Linked DNA regions of Homo sapiens: all the other regions are linked to region 2. The links are contacts of gene promoters, found by promoter capture Hi-C in blood cells and fetal thymus (Javierre and others, 2016). All regions are on one chromosome and are shown on one strand. Each heading gives the region's core, a stretch centred on a gene start or on the middle of the fragment in contact. The rest is flanking DNA. Distances are from core to core; before and after follow the strand shown. Region 1 overlaps ASAP1 (ArfGAP with SH3 domain, ankyrin repeat and PH domain 1). Region 2 holds the start of CYRIB (CYFIP related Rac1 interactor B). Region 3 overlaps CYRIB (CYFIP related Rac1 interactor B).

Region 1 (3,920 bases), core at 512-3,011, 110 kb after region 2:
AAAATAACTCAGATCACGCCACTCCTGTTTAAAACCTCTCAATCACACTTACAATCAAATCCCCAGGCAGTCCATGACCTACACGATCTGGCTCCACCTCTATCTTGCCCAGCATTCCCCTGCATCTCCCTCTTGCTCAGTTCTCTCCCGCCACATCTTCCTTCATGACATAGCTCAAATATGCCTTACTGCCCCTTGGGGCACCCATATGACCTGTTCCAGCTGCCTGGCTGCTTCCCCCCAGGGAGGGTGCCTTCATGCCCCTCAATTCTGCACTTTCCCCACCTTCAACTTGAAAAAAATACCCTCTCCCCATTCCCCACACACTTCAACACCTCCTCTTGTTGTAATTTCTTCATAACACCTAATACAATGTGTAATTGTATGACTGACTTTTTAATTCCCTGTGTTTTCATCTCCTCAGAATGTAAGCAGGACAGAAACTCTGTCTTGTTTGCTACTGTATCTTCAGCACCTACAAGACTGGCTGAAGTAGGGAAGCTGCCTCGTAAGGATTTGATCAACAACTAAATGAGTGATCAAACTGCATGTTACAAGAGGTTCACTTTATGCTTCTGGGTCACTGGCCAAACAAGGAAGTAATAATAGTAGTAGTAGTAAATACTTATACAGCACTTACTACAGACCAATAATAATAATAACAGATACTTATACAGCACTAACTATAGACCAAATGCTGCTCCAAGCACTTTTTATTCAAGCCCCTTAATTGTCACCACAACCCTATGAGGTAGATATATGTTCTGGATGAGGAAACTAAGGCACAGACAATTAAAGTTACTTGTCCAAGGTCACATAGTTTAGGAAGTGGCAGAGCTATGATATGAACTCCAGCAGTCTGGCTTCAAAATCTATGACCCTAACCACTACATTAGAGATATTGGAGAATCACAGACATTTTGAAGGTGAAAGTCTTACAGAGGCCAAATGACTAGATGAGGCACAAAGCTGACCAGGTGGCGCTGATGCTGCTTCCCACATGAGAAACAGGACATAAAAACCCATGTTGTTATGACATTCATCTGGCAGCTGTGCCTTCAAGGTTTGGGTCATGCAAACATTTAAAAAATGCTGGTGTGGACAAGAGTGCACTGTGTATGTGCTTGAGCACTTGCTGTTATCAAGCTGGTAAAGTAAAACTTAGGTCTTATTTGTTCATGGTAGTTTTACAATCAAATTAACTTTTGAAAAGCCTTTTCAGTGTAATTTGTGCTTTTTTTTTCCATCTGCATAGTGTTCTGTTGTGTGGCTCTACCATAGAGTATTTCATCAGATGCCTACAGATGGATACTTGTTTTGTTCCTAATCTTTTTGCATTACAGAATAGGAATAAATTCCCAGGAGTGGGACTGCTGAGTCAAAGGGTAAGTACATTTATAATTTTGGTAAATATGGTTAATTTGTTTTTCATAGTGTACCATTTTGTACTCCCACTGGCAATATTATGAGACAGAATGTCAGTTTCCCCACAGTCTTGCTGAGTGGGTTTTTAAGCATTTGGATTTTTGCCAGGCTAAAAGGAATCTCCCATTGTCTTTGAATGTCTCTTACTCATCACAATATGCCATGTTTTTGAGAGAACTGCCCCCATGACAATCTGTGCTTCACAGAGCAGGTGCGCAGCTGCAACAACCTAGGGGAAGGTGAGGGTGAAAAGAATCTGTGCATCCCGGAAATACATTTCTAAATACTTTTCTTTGTTCTGCTTTCCCCTGACAATGGGGTTTGCTCTGGAAAACAAACAAACAAACAAACAAACACTGTAAAAAACTAAAGACTTTCTTTTATTTTTGAGATGGGGTCTCGCACTGTTGCCCAGGCTGGAGTGCAGGGGTGCGATCTCGGCTCACTGCAAGCTCCGCCTCCCGGGTTCATGCCATTCTCCTGCCTCAGCCTCCCGAGTAGCTGGGACTACAAAGTGCCTGCCACCACGCCCGGCTAATTTTTAAAAAATTTTTAATAGAGACGGGTTTCACCGTGTTAGCCAGGATGGTCTTGATCTCCTGACCTCGTGATCCGTTTGCCTCAGCCTCCCAAAGTGCTGGGATTACAGGCGTGAGCCACTGCACCCAGCCAAAAAAAAAAAAAGAAGTTTTTTGGAAGGGTAGAAAAACAATTATAGAATGGTTTAAAAAAGTTCAATATATCAGAAATACTTACATATCACTTGAAGGGGTGGGTTTTGGTGAGGGGCTGGGTAAATTTGCTTCCATAATATCATTAAAACTATTGTTTCCTACATTCTTGGCCAGCTGTAACAGAAAAAACAAACAACCACAATATAGCAAACTCTTTGCTACTAGTTAAAAGTCTCCTATTATTTGTTTTTGAGATTTATGAATATGTATTTTCCCTCATTTGACTTAGAATACAAACCACCGTCCATCTGGTCTACAAATATTTACTGAGCATCTACTACGTGCCAAGCACCAAACTAAGTGCTGGAAATACAGAGATGGGTAAACTATGTTCCCTTTCCATAGATGCTCATAGTCTAGTGGGGCCATTGACAAGGAAATCAATCATGTCTACAAATATGTGATAAATGCTAGAACAGAATCTGGTTCTACACACATATAAACTATATGAGATTACAGAGAGCAGGCTCCATATGTGAGTCTAGGTTAAACTTTTAATAAACAGCAATAGCTTATCAACCACCATCATGTTTCCTTTTTATATTGAACAAATTTACTCCCAGGACAGAAAAGGACACAGGATTACTTTATATCTGGATACAGATTAAGATGCTGCAGGCAGCAGAGGACCCAGGAACCATTTTGCTTCTGGGTTCAAGAGCATTCTAAGAAAATTTGTTCTGAAGGGCCTCTAATCATTTTATGTAATTTTGGGATGCAAAGTTTAAGAAACATACATGCAACCATGTCTTTGAGGGAAAAAGTCTTGGGTTTATTGCATGGCAAACGTTTAGGATTTGGACTTTCCTCTTTCTTGTTGTCAAACTGGGTTTCATTAATACAGGTCAAGGAGATGAGGGACATCATTTCTGCACTAAAGAATGTGTTACAGGTAATAGGTCTGTGTCTTTTCTCTACAATCCTGAAGTGAACTAGGGAGCCGAGTATCAGCATGGTAACTTCCTACATTCTAAATTAGAAGGAATGTCTTGTATTGTGCATAGAACACAAGACAGATCACGATTGCTTAGTGAACGCTCAGATGACCAGGGCTGCTGGCTGGGTCACTAACTGCCCTTTTTGGTTAAGGCTAATGATAAGCTAGACTTTCAGCTTTTTTTTGAGCCCAGGTTCATTCAGGTTCTGCTCAAGGGTGAGCCTCCTGTCTGAGAAGTCATACTTTATTTTAAAAATTTCACTCTTAGTACAAAGACTCTCTCACAGTGCACCAGGTGTTAAAATTATGCAAAATGGGGCATTTGTCCAGTAGGCATCCTACTTGGGGGATGCCAAGTAGGCTCCCCTTCTGTATTTTGGTATATCTCGGGGAGCAATTTGGACCTGATGACAACTCCAAATCTGGGTGACTCATGATGGGAAGGGCAGAGGTTAAAGGAAAACAAGTTTAAGTGTACATAACCCCTTTTTTGGATTAAGAAGCTAAGCACCACAACTTCTCACAATTTCTTCCCTTACTACCTAAAGAAGTTATGGGTTCAAGAGTAGTTGGTTTTATGACAATAGTTAACAAGCCACTTGTAATTCATGTGTACTTTTACAAACTTAGAAATAATAAAAAAAAATTGAGATAAACTCTTTAGTCATTATTTACAACAGAAGCCATGAGGTAATGTGAACATTTGAGTTTAACTGCTATTTCCACGAGTTATATGAAAACTAATTCATAAAGAAAAATGTAGTTTTGAAGAAGACCATCCCAAAAGAAAAGAGCCAATTTCACTGAGCTACTTATAGACATGT
Region 2 (3,554 bases), core at 371-2,870:
CTCAGTCTTGGCTGTTGGCCTCAGCCAGTCACCTGGCGGTGGCAATCAAAATGACGCCTTCTTTTTATTTTTCCCCCAGTGCAATCTTCCAAGAATGGGAGAGTCTCAAAGTCAGAGTTTAAGCCCTTTTTCACAAGGGAGTCAGTATTTTCACAAGATGGTCTTCCTCAGAGAGGGGAGGAGTCCATCCAACCCAGATAGCAAAATTGCTCCCTGGAGATCCTGGATGGATGTTACAGGGCAAGGAAGCCAAAATGTGGAAGCACACCGACTCACCTCTCAAAATTCACCACCCACTCGTTCATCTCACAATTATCTATGGGGTGCTTCCCACGTGCTTCAACGCACCCTTTCTAGGTGCTGGGGATGCAGAAATTCAAGGTGACTGGCAATGACACTTTCTATCACTGCGCCCCCTGCAGGCCAGGAAATCTACGCTCGTTTTCTCAAGGCCCCACTCGCAGCAGCCCATTTCACAGACGGGACCCTAAGACTCAGAGAGGGTAAGCGACTTGCCCAAGGTCACACAGCTAGTAAGCGGCAGGGCCAGGAATTAAACATAGCTGCAAAGTGCATGTGACACTCCCCCGCAGCCCCAGCTCTATCCCTCCGCACCCCTCCACCTCTTGCAGCAGGGTGGGTAGCAAAGGCACACTCCAAGTAGCTCCAGCATGGTAAGACCTCGATTCCTCCTTCGTTCCACTCCTGACACAGGACACACGTTTCAAAGGACACACAGGTTTTTCCCAACCCCAGTGTGTGTGTACACAGCCCCAGGAAAGCCCTGCAGGCTGCAAGGGCACCCACCCGCTAACACTGAACTTCCATTTAAAAAGAAAGATAATGAAAAGATAAAAGGCGAAGAGGAAGTGCTCTTTAAACACAGGCGGGTGGCTACCCCAGGAGGAAGTCTTGAGGCCAGTGGAGATTTTGTTCACCCCCTCTAGTTCCTCAAATCCAATGCGACTGGTCTTCCAAGCCCCTGATGGGAGGTGGCCGGGGGCCAGCGCTGCTCCCGGGGTCAGTCCCCGCACCGACACCCGGCTCGCAGGAAGGGTCTGCCAGGGACCAGCCACCCCGACCCGAGCGCCCCCTGCCTCGAGGCGCACAAGGCGCCGGCTCCGCAGCTGGGTGGACCCGGGCGGCGGCCCCGCTGCGCGCTCCCCTCGCGTCCGCCCGCCGCCCCCCGCGCACTCGAGGCGCCTCCCCCGGGACCCCCGCGCCCGCCGGCCCGGACGCCCCCACCACGGCGGCGCCCCCTGTCCACCCGCCGCAGCGCCCGGCCCGGCGGCCCGGATGGTACCTCCGCCTCTCCCCGCACCCATCACGCGCGCGCCCCGCACCCCGCGCCCTCTCCGGGGGCAAATCGGATCCAGGGGCGCGCGCGCGGGCCGGCCGGGCGGCGGCGCCTTCAGAGCCCCGGCACGTACCTGGCGGCCCGGGCGGGCGAGGGGAGCGCGGCGCGGGAGCGCAGGAGCCTCGGAGCCTCCGGTGCCGCCGCCGCCGCCGTTTCCGGGTTGGCGGGGCTCACGTCACCGCCACAGGTTTGCGAGCTGCCCCCGCCGCGGCGGCAGCAGCAGCAGCAGCAGCAGCCCGGGCGAGTGCCAGGCGAGAAATAACTATAAAAGGAAGAGGCGCGGCGAGGAGGAAGAGGAAGCGCTGTTTACCTTCGAGAAGCCGAGCCGCCGGCGCTCGCACAAAAGGAGGACGCTCGCCTCGCGACGCGCCTCCCCCCGCGCCCAGTCCCCGCCGCATCGCGGGGCCCCGGCGTCAGCGCGCGCCGCGCCCCGGGACCGCCCCGCGCCGGCCCCCACCCCAGAACCCCGCGCCCGCCTGGCCCGTGTCCTCCCGAGCCGGGGCGCCACGGGCCCGGGACGGTGGTGACCTTGGGCAAGTCACCGCGGGGCGCGCTGCGATTGGGGGTCATCGCCCTCATTGTGCGAGGAGGAAACCCGGCTCCGAGAGGCGCAAGAGTGACCCCCAAGGTCACTGCCTGTCAGGCAGGGCTTGGGCTCGAACCCCGGTCTCCAGACCTTCAGGCCGGCCAGGTTCCCATCCCTGGGTCGCTTCCCCCTCACCTGGACTTCAGGAATGGTGACAGCCCCTGCCTGGCTCACCTCGCAGCGGGGTCAGTGAGAGGAATGCTGTCCACGCACCCATTCAGCCCTCCCGCAGATACTTACTGGGCCTACTAAGTGCCCGGGCTGTTCTAGGCCCTGGAGCTGCAGCTGCGAACCAAAACAAAATCCCTGCCCGGGAGGGGCAGCGGGGACAGGCCGTAAATATCTGATGGGTCCTATGGTGCTAAGTGCTGTGCCAGAGGAAAAATAAAGCGGGGTGAGGGGACGGTGCGGGCTGTCGGTGCTACCCTAAGCGGTTCTCCAAGGACTTTAAATTTAGTACAGAAATTCCCACATAAAAAGCTCCTCGCCATAATTCCAGTTTCAGGTATTATGGGAGACCTCATCTTTCCCCTGATCTAGAATGGAAAATACTGTGTTTTTCTCCCTGTAACAGGACATGCCTAGGAAACTGATACTCTCCTTCCCTCTGCCTTGCTCCCCTGGCCCAGAAGCCCATCCTATCATTATCTTGACATTCAACCAGAAATTTCTCGGGAAGATAGACAACATTCTCTCAAGTATCTTTCTGCTGTCCTCTAGCAGGGTATCAAAAGGGTTACATCAAAGGCTTCCATTGTCTTTCCACCTCCACCTCCAGCTATAGGGGGGTTGGAGTGTGCTCACATCATACTCAGTGCTGAGTTACCTGATTAGGAGCCAGTTGTTCCATTTCTTTTCTTTTTTCTTTCTTTTTTTTTTTTTTGTCTAAGACAGGATTTTGCTCTGTTTCCCAGGCTAGGTAGCGCAGTGATGCGATAGCTCACTGCAGCCTCAAATTCCTGGGCTCAAGCGATCCTCCCACCTCAGCCTCCCGAGTTGCTGGGACCACGGGTATGCACCACCATGCTCAGCTAATTTTTATAGATTTTTGTAGAGGTGGGTCTCCCTGTGTTGCCCTGGCTGGCCTGTTTCTCCTGGGCTCAAGGGATCCTCCCTGCCTCCGCCTCCCAAAGTGTGGGGATTACAGGCATAAACCACCACACCCAGCCCGCCAATTCTTTAACAAAGGTGCCTTGCGCCTTCTCTTGGCCAGGCCCAGTTCTCGGAGCTGGGGACCCTGAGATGGTGCCATTTCAGCAGTACTCCCTGGACTGCTCTCTAAGCTTACCCGAGCGCCAGTGCCTTCATTCCTAAAGGAAGGGAACTAATGTCCACCTTGCTGTGGGGGCTGAGAAGTAGGTGGGGAAACACTGGGTCCTGAACTATGACCTTGAGGAGAAGCAGGAAAAGGGTTTGGAAGCAGGCAGAGCTGAGCCGCTTATAAAATGAGCATTAACAATTCTGAACATTTATAAAGTACTAAGCAGGTGCCAAGTGTGTGCAGGCCCATGAAGCAGGTTTATCATGGCCCAGTGTCATGCATTAAGATACTGCAGCTGGAAGAGAGATGAGATTTGCCCAAGATCACACAGATTAGACAGCGGTGGAGCT
Region 3 (3,947 bases), core at 254-2,753, 110 kb before region 2:
TAATTTTCCCCTTTATTATAAGGGTAAAACATGCTCACTACACAAAATACATAAAGAAAGTGGAAAGAAACAAGTACCACTACCTATAATCCCACAACCAAAGCTTTAACAATTTATTCTCTTCTAATTTCTTTTATGTATATTTTTATACAATTTAACACCCTTTCTTTGTATTTGTACTGCTTTTTATCATTCACATCATGAGCAATATTTTCACATCATTAAAAACTCTGCCAAAATACCACTTTTAGTCTTTACATACCAACTCATCATATGGTTGTACCACATTTTTTCAAGCATTTTCTCACTGCTGGACATTCAGGTTTTTCTAACCTTTTGCTCTTTTAAACGATGCTATATGCCCAAGACTTCCATAAGCACATAAAGACTTTGTGAGATTAGAAGAAGTTATCCCAGTCTAATATAAAAACGTTTATGAACTATTATTTTATTACACAACCTCAACAACTACACAATATAGCTCTGCCTGGGTTGGGGTTTAAGAACCCCAGCAAGCAAACACCCTGGCTGTGCATACACATGCCCCTGCACACAAGGGTCACGCTCTTGCCTACTGACAAACATAATCCCTGAACATTAAGGCACATAAACATACCTAAGCCAGTGCCAGGCACCCTTGCCCCAAATTTCTCAAATGAGACTACCAGATCAGTTTCTGTCAGACTGGAGTGGTGGGCAAGTTAGCGAAAGACATCACCTCAGGGGATGCCTGGAGTCTGGAGCTCAGTCTGGACAAGACCATGCTGTAACCACCTGCATGGACAGAGTGTCCTCACAGGAGCTCTCCAGAGTCTTCGCATGCCATAGGTGCTAGTATGGGTTTATGTACCAGGCAACTTACTGTAACCTGGAACTCCTGGCTCCAAGATGTGGCCAGAAGGCCCAGAATCCCTTCACTCACCCACGGTCTTCTCAAAGTGACATGTCTATCTCATGTCTGATACACCCACAGGTGTGGCACCCCTTGTGCAGAGGGCCATGTGAACACCTTGAATAATTATCTTAGCTATGAACATATATCTTTGTTGAAATAACTTAAAAATGTTTAGGATACATCAAGGTCTTTATACCTAGTGCCAAATTGCTGTCCAAAGATACATTCTAATTAACACTACCATCAGAATGATGCACTGGCCAACTTCACAGCATCCTTGACAAGTGGTGCCTTCTTTCACTTTTTTTTTTTTTTTTTTTTTTTTTTTAAAGAGACAAGGGCCAGGTGCAATGGTTCCTGCCTATAATTCCAACGCTTCAGGAAGCTGAGGTGGGAGGATCACTTAAGACCAGGAGTTTGAGAACAGACAAGACAACATAGCAAGACCATATACACACAAAAATTAAAATGAACAGCCAGGTCTAGTAACATACAACTGTCGTCTCAGCTACATGTGTGGCTGAGACAAGAGGATGGCTTAAGCGCAAGAGTTCAAGGCCACAGTGGGCTATGAGTGCCACTGCACTCCAACATGGGCAACAGAGCAAGACCCTAATTCTAAAAACAAACAAGAGAAACACGGTCTCGCTCTGTCGCCCAGGCTGGAATGCAGTTGTACAATCATAGCTCACTGTAACCTTGAACTCCTGGCCTCAAGGTGTTCTCCCTCCTTGGCCTCCAAAAGCGCTGGAATTATAGGCATGAGCCACCTTGCCCGGCCTCTCTCCCATTGTTTTGTTAACTACTGAGGCCAGCTATTTTTTCCTCCACAATTGTGTAACTTAGTCCTTCCCATTTTCTATCAAGGCCTTATGTATTTTTAAGGAAATAACTATCAAATCTGAACTTCCTTGATCAGATACTCAATATAAATGTATAAAGTGAGGTACAGTCTTTTAAAATTGTCCCTTTCTACTCAGCTGCCTTTTTCTAAGTACTTCCTATGTTTTAGACACTGTACTGCATGATATATTTCACATAAGCCTGTGAACCTAATAGGTTAAAATTAAACCCTTTTCATTGATGAGCAATCAGAGGCTTTAAAAGGTTAAGTAGTTTGTCCAAGGTCATGACTAGAGGGTAAGGAATTGGGAAAAGGAGCGGAAGGGACAGAAATGAGGAAGGGAACAGAGGGAGAAAATTACTTTTCAGGAAACAATCTTGTTCAATATTTATTATAATATTCCTTTCTGTAGATGTGATTTCTTGTAAAACAAATACTACTTTTCCACTAACTTCTTTTATTGTAAAATTAAAAATGATTCTTTAAAAAAATAACCCACGGCCGGACGCGGTGGCTCACACCTGTAATCCCAGCACTTTGCGAGGCCAAGGTGGGCGAATCACGAGGTCAGGGGTTCAAGACCAGCCTGACCAACATGGTGAAACCCTGTCCCTCCTAAAAATACAAAAATTAGCCCGACTGTGGTGGTGTGCAAAAAAAAAACAAAAATAAAAACAAACAAAACCTACAACAGCAATAATGCTGTTTTCAATTATGAAAAACCTGAGGCAAGGGCTAAATTAAAAGGCTCACCAGGCTTTGAGGACATTATACAGAACCTTCTTACTTCTGGATCTCCTGGTTACTGTCAATATCTTGCCCTGATTACTGACCATCTACAATGGGACTTTTCTGATACTTCAACTCAGCTAAGTTTTGGAACATACAGCCATGGAGAGACTGTAAAATGCATTTTTGATGGCAGGTGCTGCAATCGTGCTAACCTAAAGATTCCACAGGTTTAAGATACGTTCTGTGAAAACAAGTAAGTACCTTATTTTGCAGCTCTATAAGCTCAAACTCTGTAAAATTAAATGCTAGTTAAAAGAAAGAATTTTTAGTGTTCATTTAATCTACCCCACATGTTCAAACCCCCTTATAACATTTACACACATAATTTTAAAGGAATGGTAAATACAAACAGAGGTAATAACATAAGGCAAATAAAGCTTTACAGTTTATATATATACACGCTCCAAATTTACCCCAGGTTCGATTTCATAAAAGATCAAATAGTTGAATTTATACATCCTGCTAAATATATATATATATGCTCCAAAATTATCTGAAGTTGCAAACTGCACTAGCACTGAAATGACCATTCCTTCCAGCTTCTCACCTGCTTCACCACTCCCCCAGTACCACTCTCTCCACCTCTAGTCCAATGCTGCAGTTATCTGAAATTACAAAGTTTTTTTTTTTTTTTAATTATGACCAAGTTTGGCTTACCTGAGAAGTGCAAGGTTGGTTCAGAATACCTACTGTTTTCACCACCCTAACAGATTAAAAGAAAAAAGCCATATAATTACCTCAAAAGATGCACAGATGCACTCTGGGGTTGGGGGAAGGGGAGGACTGGGAACAGAGAAGGTGCATTTCAATGAAAACAAAGACTTGGGTTTTTTAAATTTGCCTTTATTTTTATTTTTTTATTTTAGAGACAGGGTCTTATTAGGATGCCCAGGCTGGGGCTTTCTTTTCTTGCAAGTCATTTTTTTTTCAAACAATTCTATATGATAATCAACAGGATGAACTAATGAAGGCATATTAAAGAGTGGTTCAGGTAAAATGATTCAGTGAATTCCTAATCTGTGTGTCATGTTTACGGTGACAGAAAACAAGTGTGTTCTCTACTGCTGTTAAAGTTATCTCTACTGCTGATAAATTTAAATACAAAGCGCAAAAGTGAATCCTACAATGCAATACCATGACTTTCAGGAATCTGCTTCACTTTTTTTTTTTTTTTTTTTGAGACGGAGACTGCTCTGTCACCCAGGCTGGAGTGCAGTGGCATGATCTAGGCTCACTGCAAGCTCCGCCTCCTGGGATCACATCATTCTCCGGCCTCAGCCTCCCACGTAGCTGGGACTACAGGCGCCGGCCACCACGCCCGGCTAATTTTTTGTATTTTTAGTAGAGACAGGGTTTCACCGTGTTAGCCAGGATGGTCTTGAACTTCTGACCTCATGATCCACCTGCCTCAGCCTC

The links. The method cuts DNA at HindIII sites, captures the fragments that hold promoters and counts their contacts. A CHiCAGO score of 5 or more calls a contact.
Region 1: a contact is called between a fragment that was not itself captured here and the fragment with the promoter of CYRIB in region 2, in 1 of 17 cell types (neutrophils). The highest score is 6.1, in neutrophils.
Region 3: a fragment that was not itself captured here is called in contact with the fragment with the promoter of CYRIB in region 2 in 14 of 17 cell types (total CD8 T cells, naive CD4 T cells, neutrophils and 11 more); the score reaches 16.7 in total CD8 T cells.

The regions. Positions count from the first base shown.
Region 1 is chr8:130,121,832-130,125,751 of GRCh38, forward strand. It overlaps ASAP1 (ArfGAP with SH3 domain, ankyrin repeat and PH domain 1), which reads right to left. Exons shown (of 30, transcript NM_018482.4): 18 at 2,182-2,273. Among named protein-coding and RNA genes, the nearest start is that of ASAP1-IT2, 39 kb to the left of the region's middle. The HindIII fragment of the contact is 6,155 bases long and covers 1-3,920 here.
Region 2 is chr8:130,014,940-130,018,493 of GRCh38, forward strand. It overlaps CYRIB (CYFIP related Rac1 interactor B), which reads right to left and starts at 1,621. Exons shown (of 14, transcript NM_001353258.2): 1 at 1,431-1,621. RefSeq lists silencers at 914-1,183, 1,374-1,563, 1,654-1,723, 1,774-1,833. The HindIII fragment of the contact is 5,812 bases long and covers 1-3,224 here.
Region 3 is chr8:129,909,282-129,913,228 of GRCh38, forward strand. All of the region lies in intron 2 of CYRIB (CYFIP related Rac1 interactor B), which reads right to left. Among named protein-coding and RNA genes, the nearest start is that of MIR5194, 97 kb to the right of the region's middle. The HindIII fragment of the contact is 2,805 bases long and covers 102-2,906 here.